Linked DNA regions of Homo sapiens: region 1 is linked to region 2. Evidence: promoter capture Hi-C in 16 types of primary human blood cells and fetal thymus (Javierre and others, 2016). All regions are on one chromosome and are shown on one strand. The core of a region is centred on a gene start or on the middle of the fragment in contact, and the rest is flanking DNA. Distances in the headings are between cores, read along the strand shown.

Evidence for each region. Contacts are between HindIII fragments. The CHiCAGO score rates a contact against its expected background, and 5 or more counts as called.
Region 1: a contact is called between a fragment that was not itself captured here and the fragment with the promoter of MMP19 in region 2, in 1 of 17 cell types (endothelial precursors). The highest score is 5.4, in endothelial precursors.

The regions. Positions count from the first base shown.
Region 1 is chr12:55,882,439-55,886,402 of GRCh38, reverse strand. No RefSeq gene overlaps it. Among named protein-coding and RNA genes, the nearest start is that of MMP19, 41 kb to the right of the region's middle. The HindIII fragment of the contact is 1,470 bases long and covers 934-2,403 here.
Region 2 is chr12:55,840,627-55,844,929 of GRCh38, reverse strand. MMP19 (matrix metallopeptidase 19) reads left to right here and starts at 1,994. Exons shown (of 9, transcript NM_002429.6): 1 at 1,994-2,186; 2 at 2,492-2,577; 3 at 3,694-3,824; 4 at 4,048-4,263. The coding sequence starts at 2,100. The HindIII fragment of the contact is 3,493 bases long and covers 1-2,439 here.

The DNA of each region.
Region 1 (3,964 bases), core at 419-2,918, 42 kb before region 2:
CTGCCTTGGCCTCCCAAAGTGCTGGGATTACAGGTGTGAGCCACAGTGCCCAACCTGATATGAATTCCTTCTGCCTGGAGTTCCTCTCCTTGAGTGACAAGCTTGTTTTAAATGGGTTGTAAAAACAATGCCTTATCTAACAATAGTGTTTCAGATAATAAAGTGCAGGCTGTAACAATCCTCAAACACTAAAATACAAAGGCAAATTCAGCGAATTATTTCTATTTATTCCTACTAGGTTAGGAGCTCCTCATGGCTGTAGAAATGACTAGTCTTATCCATTTCTAAATCCATGATTCTTGGTACCTAGTGTATAATGAAACATAATATAGCTGTTTGTTTTTTGAACAAATCTAGTTCCCAGGGTTTGCTCTCAGAATACCGGGTTCAAATCTCAGTTCTTTTTTTTTTTTCTTTTTGAGACAGAGTCTCCCTCTGTCTCCTGGGCTGGAGTGCCGTGGCGTGATCTCAGCTCACTGCAACTTCCACCTACTGTGCTCAAGCAATCCTCTCACCTCAGCCACCCAAGTAGCTAGGACTACAGGCATGCACCACAATGCCTGGGCTGATTTTTAAATTTTATTTGTAGAGACAGGGTCTTGCTATATTGCCCAGGCTGGTTGTGAACTTCTGGCTTCAGGTGGTCCTCCTGCCTGGGCTTCCCAAAGTGTTGGAGTTACAGGCATGAGCCATCATGCCCAGCCTAAAGTTAGTTATTATTGATGAAGTTTTGAAATAGAGAACTGATGGTAAGATCATGGAAAATGAGGAGAAACCAGGTATGTACTTCTCAAGATACCTCAACAAAATAGTATTTCTTTTCCTGATGTGTTGACCATGGTCTGGATCTTGCCAATATCCCTACAGACATCTGGTTTTGTCAGCACAGACAGTAGATCCAATTCTTGAGGATAGACCCATATTAGTCAAGCTTACAAGGCTGATTTATAAACTAGAACATATAAATTAGAATGTCAGTTTATCATTTTATACAAACCAAACCTACCATGAGGAATAGAACACTTGAGTCAGCACAACCAGCACTCTCACTGCCCACAAACATTGCTCCTTGGTTCACCAAATTATATTCAGAAGGTTACTTGGTGAGTATGCATATTAGTTTCCTGTGACTGCTATAACAAATTACCACAACTTGGTGGCTTAAAATAGCAGAAATGTATTCTCTCAAAGTACTAGAGGCTAGAAGTCCAAAGTCAGTATCACTGGATCAAAGCAAAGGTGTCGGCCAGGCATGGTGGTGCATGCCTGTAGTCCCAGCAACTAGGGAGCTACTAGTACTAGGGAGGGTGAGTTAGGAGGATCGATTGAGCCCAGGGGGTGGAGGCTGCAGTGAGCTATGACTGTGCCACAGCACTCCAGCCTGGGTGGCAGAGCGAGACCCTGTCTCAGAAAAAGAAAAAAAAGCCAGGTGCGGTGGCTCACACCTGTAATCCCAGCACTTTGGGAGGCCGGTGGATCACCTGAGGTCAGGAGTTCGAGACCAGCCTGACCAACGTGGTGAAATCCCATCTCTACTAAAAATACAAAATTAGCTGGGTGTGTGGTGCATGCCTGTAATCCCAGTTACTTGGGAGGCTGAGGCAGGAGAATCATTTGAATCCAGGAGGTACAGGTTGCAGTGAGCCAAGTTTGCACCATTGCACTCCAGCCTGGGCAACAAGAGTGAAACTCTATCTCAGAAAAAAAAAAAAGGAAAGAAAAATCAAGGTGTTGACAAGGCTGCACTCTCCCTCCCCAGGGGCTATAGGGGAGAATCTAATCCTTGCCTTTTCCAGCTTCTGGTAGTTGCCAGCATTTCTTGGTTTGTGACAGCATCACTCCAATCCCTGCCTTTATCTTCCTTCACATTGTCTTCTCTCTTTGTGTGTGAAATCTCTCTCTCTCTCATGAGGATACAGGTGATTGTATTTGGGGCCCAGCCACATAATCTAGAGTAATATAATCTCAAGATCCTGAACTTAATCACATCTGCAAAGACACCCCCCGCCCCCCAACCTTTTTTTTTTTTTTTTTTTTTGCCATATAAGGCATTGTTTACAGGTTGTAGGGATTAGGAAGTTAAGATCTTTTTTCAGGGAACATTTTTCAACTTATCACAGCATGGAAATTGGGACTAGGGGAGTGACCTGGTTTAGATGTGTGTCCCCTCCAAATCTCATGTTGAAATGTGACCTTCAATGTTGGAGGCTGGAGGTGGGTGTTTGGGTCATGCGGGCAGATCCCTCATGAATGGCTTGGTGCCCTCCCCATGGTAATGAATGAGTTCTCACTCTATTAGCTCACACAAAAGCCGGTTATTTAAAAGAGCCTGGAATCTCTCTTGCTTCCTCTCTCGCCATGTGACACGACTGCTCCCGTCACCTTCTGCCATGAGTAAAAGCTTCGGAAGACCTCACTGGTGCCATATTTGTACTGCCTGCAGGGCCGTGAGTCAAATTAACCTCCTTTCTTTGTAAATTACCCAGTCTTAGGTATTCCGTTATAGCAATGCAAAATGGACTAATACAGGGAGTGAGTTATACCGCTAGAAAGATTGAAGACATCAGGCTGCCATTGTGTGATGCATTTACTTCCACAGTTGGGATGGCCTAGTCAAGTGTCCTGAATACTCAAGTCCATTGCCAAGATTTATTCTCCCAAATACCATCCTTGAACGGTCACTACCAGTGTTTGCTTCTTTTTTTTTTGAGACAGAGTCTCACTCTGTTGCCCAGGCTGGAGTGCAGTGGCATGATCTTGGTTCATTGCAACCTCTGCCTCCTGGGTTCAAGCTATTCTCATGTCTCAGCCTCTCAAGTAGCTGGGGTTACAGGCGCCCGCCACCATGCCCAGCTAATTTTTGTATTTTTAGTAGAGACAGGGTTTCGCCATGTTGGTCAGGTTGGCCTCGAACCCTTGACCTCAGGTGATCCACCTGCCTTGGTCTCCCAAAGTGTTGGGATTACAGGCGTGAGCCACCACACCTGGCCTGTTTTTTTTTTTTTGAGACGGAGTCTTGCTCTTGTCGCCCAGGCTGTAGTGCAGCGGCGCAATCTCGGCTCACTGCAACCTCCGCTTCCCAGGTTCAAGCGATTCTCCGGCCTCAGCCTCCTGAGTAGCTGGGATTACAGCTACCCGCCACCACTTCCGGCTAATTTTTGTACTTTTAGTAGAGATGGGGTTTCGCCATGTCGGCCAGGCTGGTCTCGAACTCCTCACCTCAGGTGATCTGCCTGCCTTGGCCTCCCAAAGTGCTGGGATTACAGGTGTGAGCCAACGTGCCTGGCCTGTCTGTGGCTCTGCTTTTTGATGCTTCCATGGCTTACAAAACTACTTTGGTTGGCTTAGTTTTTCTTTTTCATCTTGTTCTAGCCTGGGGACTGTTCTATTTCCTTAATTGATAGCTTTGCCTAGCTCTGTTATGACCCACTATATATTGATGTTTATAACTTACTTCTTAATAGGCAATTTCTTTACTAATAAAAACAACAAAGGTATAGTGGTTTCTTCTTCCAGAATAGTGAAATTTCTAACAGCCCTACCTTTCTGCAGATAACAACATAAACTGAGGACACAAAACAAAACAACGACCTGAAGGCTCTGGAGAGTTAGCCAAAGCAGGCATATTTAGGAGGAGAGTTGAAAGTTGGATGAAGGACTTGGTCCAGGGTGAGTTTCCCATTTGTATGTTGTTAGACTAAGGGCATACCACATCATGGTGTGAAATGAGACAGCTAAAACTTTGATGAAAAACCCACCATCTGTCTGGCCTGAAGAACCAGAGTTCAGAGCTCAGGGCACACACAGTCATGGGAAAGTGAGGAGGCAATGCCAGAAAGAAGAAAACCAGGAAATGGGGGCCCCCAAATCTGCTTATAAATACTAAGTCTCTGGCTGATCTGAGAGAAGCTGGCAGTTAAGGCTAAAATAATTTCAGCCTTAAAATTTTACCCTGAGATCCGAG
Region 2 (4,303 bases), core at 745-3,244:
AACCTCTGTCTCCCGGATTCAAGCGATTCTCCTGCCTCAGCCTCCTGAGTAGCTGGGATTACAGGCGCGTGCCACCACGCCTGGCTAATTTTTGTATTTTTAGTAGAGACGGGGTTTCACCATGTTGGTCAGGCTGGTCTCAAACTCTTGACCTCAGGTGATCCACCCACCTCGGCCTCCGAAAGTGCTGGGATTACAAGTGTGAGTCACCATGCCCGGACTTTAATTCCTTTAATTTTTTATTTCCATAGGTTTTTGGGGAACAGGTGGTATTTGGTTACATAAATTCTTTAGTGTTTAGTGGTGATTTGTGAGATTTTGGTTCACCCATCACCCAATAATAGGTATTTTTATTTTAATTAATTAACTAATTAACTAATTTTGAGACAGAGTCTCATTCTGTCACCAGGCTGGAGTACAGTGGCGCGATCTCAGCTCACTGCAATCTCCGCCTCCCCAGTTCAAGCAATTCTCCTGCCTCAGTCTCCCGAGTAGCTGGGATTACAGGCGCATGCCATCACGCCTGGCTAATTTTTGTATTTTTAGTAGAGACAAGATTTTGCTATGTTGGCCAGGCTAGTCTCAAACTCCTGACCTCATGGTCCGCCCACCTCAGCCTCCGAAAGTGCTGGGATTACAGACGTGAGCCACTGCTCCCGTCCGGTATTTTTAAATGTAAGTTTTTCTTCTTTTCCTTGCATAGCATTTAAGGCCCTCTCCAAATTCTGTCTCCCAACCACTTTCCCACCCTGGTCATTCTTTGACAGTGATTTATTAAGCACAGCCTCGAAAGCATGGAGGTGGCCTGGGGTAGGCACTCGGGCTTCAGTGGTGAATGAAGCAGTCGTGACCCTTCTGACTTACTGAGTACAGCAGTCTCTCAGCTCTGCACTTTTACTCAAGACCTGCACTGTCTGTCTCTCAGTATCCTTTTACCCTATCAATTCTTTTTTTTTTTGAGATGGAGTTTTTGCTCTGTTGCCCAGGCTGGAGTGCAATGGTGTGATCTCAGCTCACTGCAACCTCTGCCTCCTGGGTTCACGTGATTCTCCTGCCTCAGCCTGCCGAGTAGCTGGGATTACAGGCGCCCGCCACCATACCTGGCTAATTTTTGTATTTTTAGTAGAAACAAGGTTTCACCATGTTGGTCAGGCTGGTTTCGAACTCTTGATCTCAAGTGATTCACCCACCTCAGCCTTTCAAAGTGCTAGGATTACAGGAGCGAGCCACCATGCCTGGCCTTACCCCATCAATTCTTAGCTGGCCTTCAAAGCCCATCTCAAAGCCTGACTTCTCAGCAAACCTCCCCCCAGCCCCAAGCCCCTTAGGGTGAATCACCTCTGGCCTGGCACGCTGGCTCCCCTCTTCCCAGGTGTCTGGATCTGCCTCACTGGATCCGTAAGCTCCCTGAGGGTAGGCTCTGGGCCCTTTACTTATTTGTGCCCTTGTTAAGTCCCACCTACACCCACATATTCCAGGCTCATTAGATTCTTGAAATAATGACTTTTTATTAAAGCAGACATAAGTAGGTTGCAGGAGCATCTATATTCCCAACTTGGTCTTGGGTACAAAGAAACTGAGACTTCACGCTTGACTCCTTCACCTGAAACCCAAGCTACCTCAGCTGTTTCCTACCTCTCAGCTTATTCTAGGGAGACTCAAAGGTAGGGGCGGAGTGATTTGCTGGCCCAGGGTCCCTGAGGCACATTGATGTCTAATTCCAGGGGATGTCCATGATCCCTATCTCTAGTCTCTCCAGAGATTCTGGTTCTCGTCCTGCCTGGATGCTCACCCTAGGGCAGTATGAAGTTTTTCCATCTCCAGCAGAGGACTCTGAGGGAAGCGATTGGGAACTCTCTTTGGCTTCCGCTCTCTGGTAGGGCAAGGGTTAATGGTGAATTGCAACATATCTCTTGGCTGAGTCACCTCCCTCTGCCTCTCCCCCAAATTCCCCTCAGCTGTTATAAAGAGGACTAGAGGCTGGAGAGTAAAAAGAACTGGGGGTAAGAGCCCCTCTGCCTAGCACTGCTCCCCCAAGGCTCCCAGAAATCTCAGGTCAGAGGCACGGACAGCCTCTGGAGCTCTCGTCTGGTGGGACCATGAACTGCCAGCAGCTGTGGCTGGGCTTCCTACTCCCCATGACAGTCTCAGGCCGGGTCCTGGGGCTTGCAGAGGTGGCGCCTGTGGTAAGTCCCCCAAGAAAGAGACCTGGGCCAGCGGAGGGACAGGGGTTACTGCTCCACAGCCCCATCGAAGCCTCCCTCCTGACCTTCAGCCTGCCTGCCTTTCCCTTGCTCTCTCTGCCCCATGGTCTACCCTGCCCATCTCCCGCTGCTTCCCCTTGTTCCACCTGAGCCCCTTCTCTAAGGTGCTTCTCCATTAGTGCTTCCATATCAGGTCCCTCCTCTCCTGATGGATCTGTTAGGTCACTTAGAAGCTTTACTCTGAGACTAACCCCCTTTTAACCTGCTTACCTCCACTCCCATCATAGGACTACCTGTCACAATATGGGTACCTACAGAAGCCTCTAGAAGGATCTAATAACTTCAAGCCAGAAGATATCACCGAGGCTCTGAGGTGAGAAGCTATGAGGTGTATGCCTTTAGGGCTAAGGTCTCAAGGTCTTCTTCCTTCTCATCCCTTCCTCTCCCCAGGCCCACCTCCTCCTGACCCTAAACCATGCCAGGGATTTAGAGATGGGTGGCGATCATTATTATGGTGGTGGGGCATGGGGTGAGATGGGGATTCACAGATGAGGAATACAGGCATTGGATCTTCCTAGGCCATAAGCATTCCTTTGGAGTCTCTACCCACATCATATCTCAAATACTAATATTTAGTTATAGTCCACATAAAGTGTAATGATATGTAAAACTGAGTTGAGTTGTTGACATGCTATTACCTTTTGTGGGCCTTCAATTTGGTACTTATTTATTTCTATTTTATAGTTTTATATGTTGATGTAATGGATTATTTTTCTTTCTGCTCTCAGATATGTTCAGGTCCCTTGAAAAGCCCCTAGGCCCTATGACAGTCCATAGATGGATGAAATTGCTCCAGGGCAAGCTGGGCTGGGACGGGTATCCATTCAGGAAGGGAGAAGGCTGAAGGAGGACAGGCTGTCAGGTGGGAGCACTAGTGGAAAGCTCTCCAGAGCAGGGGAGCCAGACACCTCCACAGAGTAGGAGAAGGTTAGAAATTGCAGTAGAGGGGCTGGGCATGGTGGCTCACGCCTGTAATCCCAGCACTTTGGGAGATCCAGGCAGGGGGATTGCTTGAGCCCAGAAGTTTGACAGCAACCTGGGCAACATAATGAGACCCCATCTCTACCAAAAAAGAAAGAAAGGAAGAAAGAAAGAGAGAAGAAAAAGAAAGGAAGGAAGGAAGGAAGGAAGGAAGGAAGGAAGGAAGGAAGGAAGATTGCAGTAGAGGAGGAAGGCTACACCTGAGGGCAAACTTACTCAAATAAAAGACACTGAAAATGGGGAGATGAAGCTGGAGTATCTCCATTTCTGCAGAACAGAAGAGAAAGTCCCAGTTATGAGGACTGGAGGCTGGAGTAACCCTGTCAGCTTCAGGGATTCTGTGCTATTCTTGGCCATGAACTTGGGCAGCAGGAAGTCAAAGAGCAATCATCTCCCAGTCATTTCAGATTTTCCTGTCCTGGTAGACCCATCCCTCTCCCTCCTTCAGAGCTTTTCAGGAAGCATCTGAACTTCCAGTCTCAGGTCAGCTGGATGATGCCACAAGGGCCCGCATGAGGCAGCCTCGTTGTGGCCTAGAGGATCCCTTCAACCAGAAGACCCTTAAATACCTGTTGCTGGGTGAGAACAGAGCCTGGAAAAGAGAGGGAGAGGAGGGGGTGATGTGGTTCTGGCGTGTGGGTGGCATTAGGACAGTCTGGACCAGCTCAGTGTTGAATAGATAATCACCTGGTGATTACCTGGTTGTCACCTGTCTTGGGGGTTGAGTGCCTAAACCCAGAGGAGCTCTCTGGGGTTGGCAGAAGGATCTGTATTTCTAATCTGTTTTCTGGTCATTAACTAGGCCGCTGGAGAAAGAAGCACCTGACTTTCCGCATCTTGAACCTGCCCTCCACCCTTCCACCCCACACAGCCCGGGCAGCCCTGCGTCAAGCCTTCCAGGACTGGAGCAATGTGGCTCCCTTGACCTTCCAAGAGGTGCAGGCTGGTGCGGCTGACATCCGCCTCTCCTTCCATGGCCGCCAAAGCTCGTACTGTTCCAATACTTTTGATGGGCCTGGTAGGCAACAGTTCTCAGTTCCCACCTCATAGACCTCTGA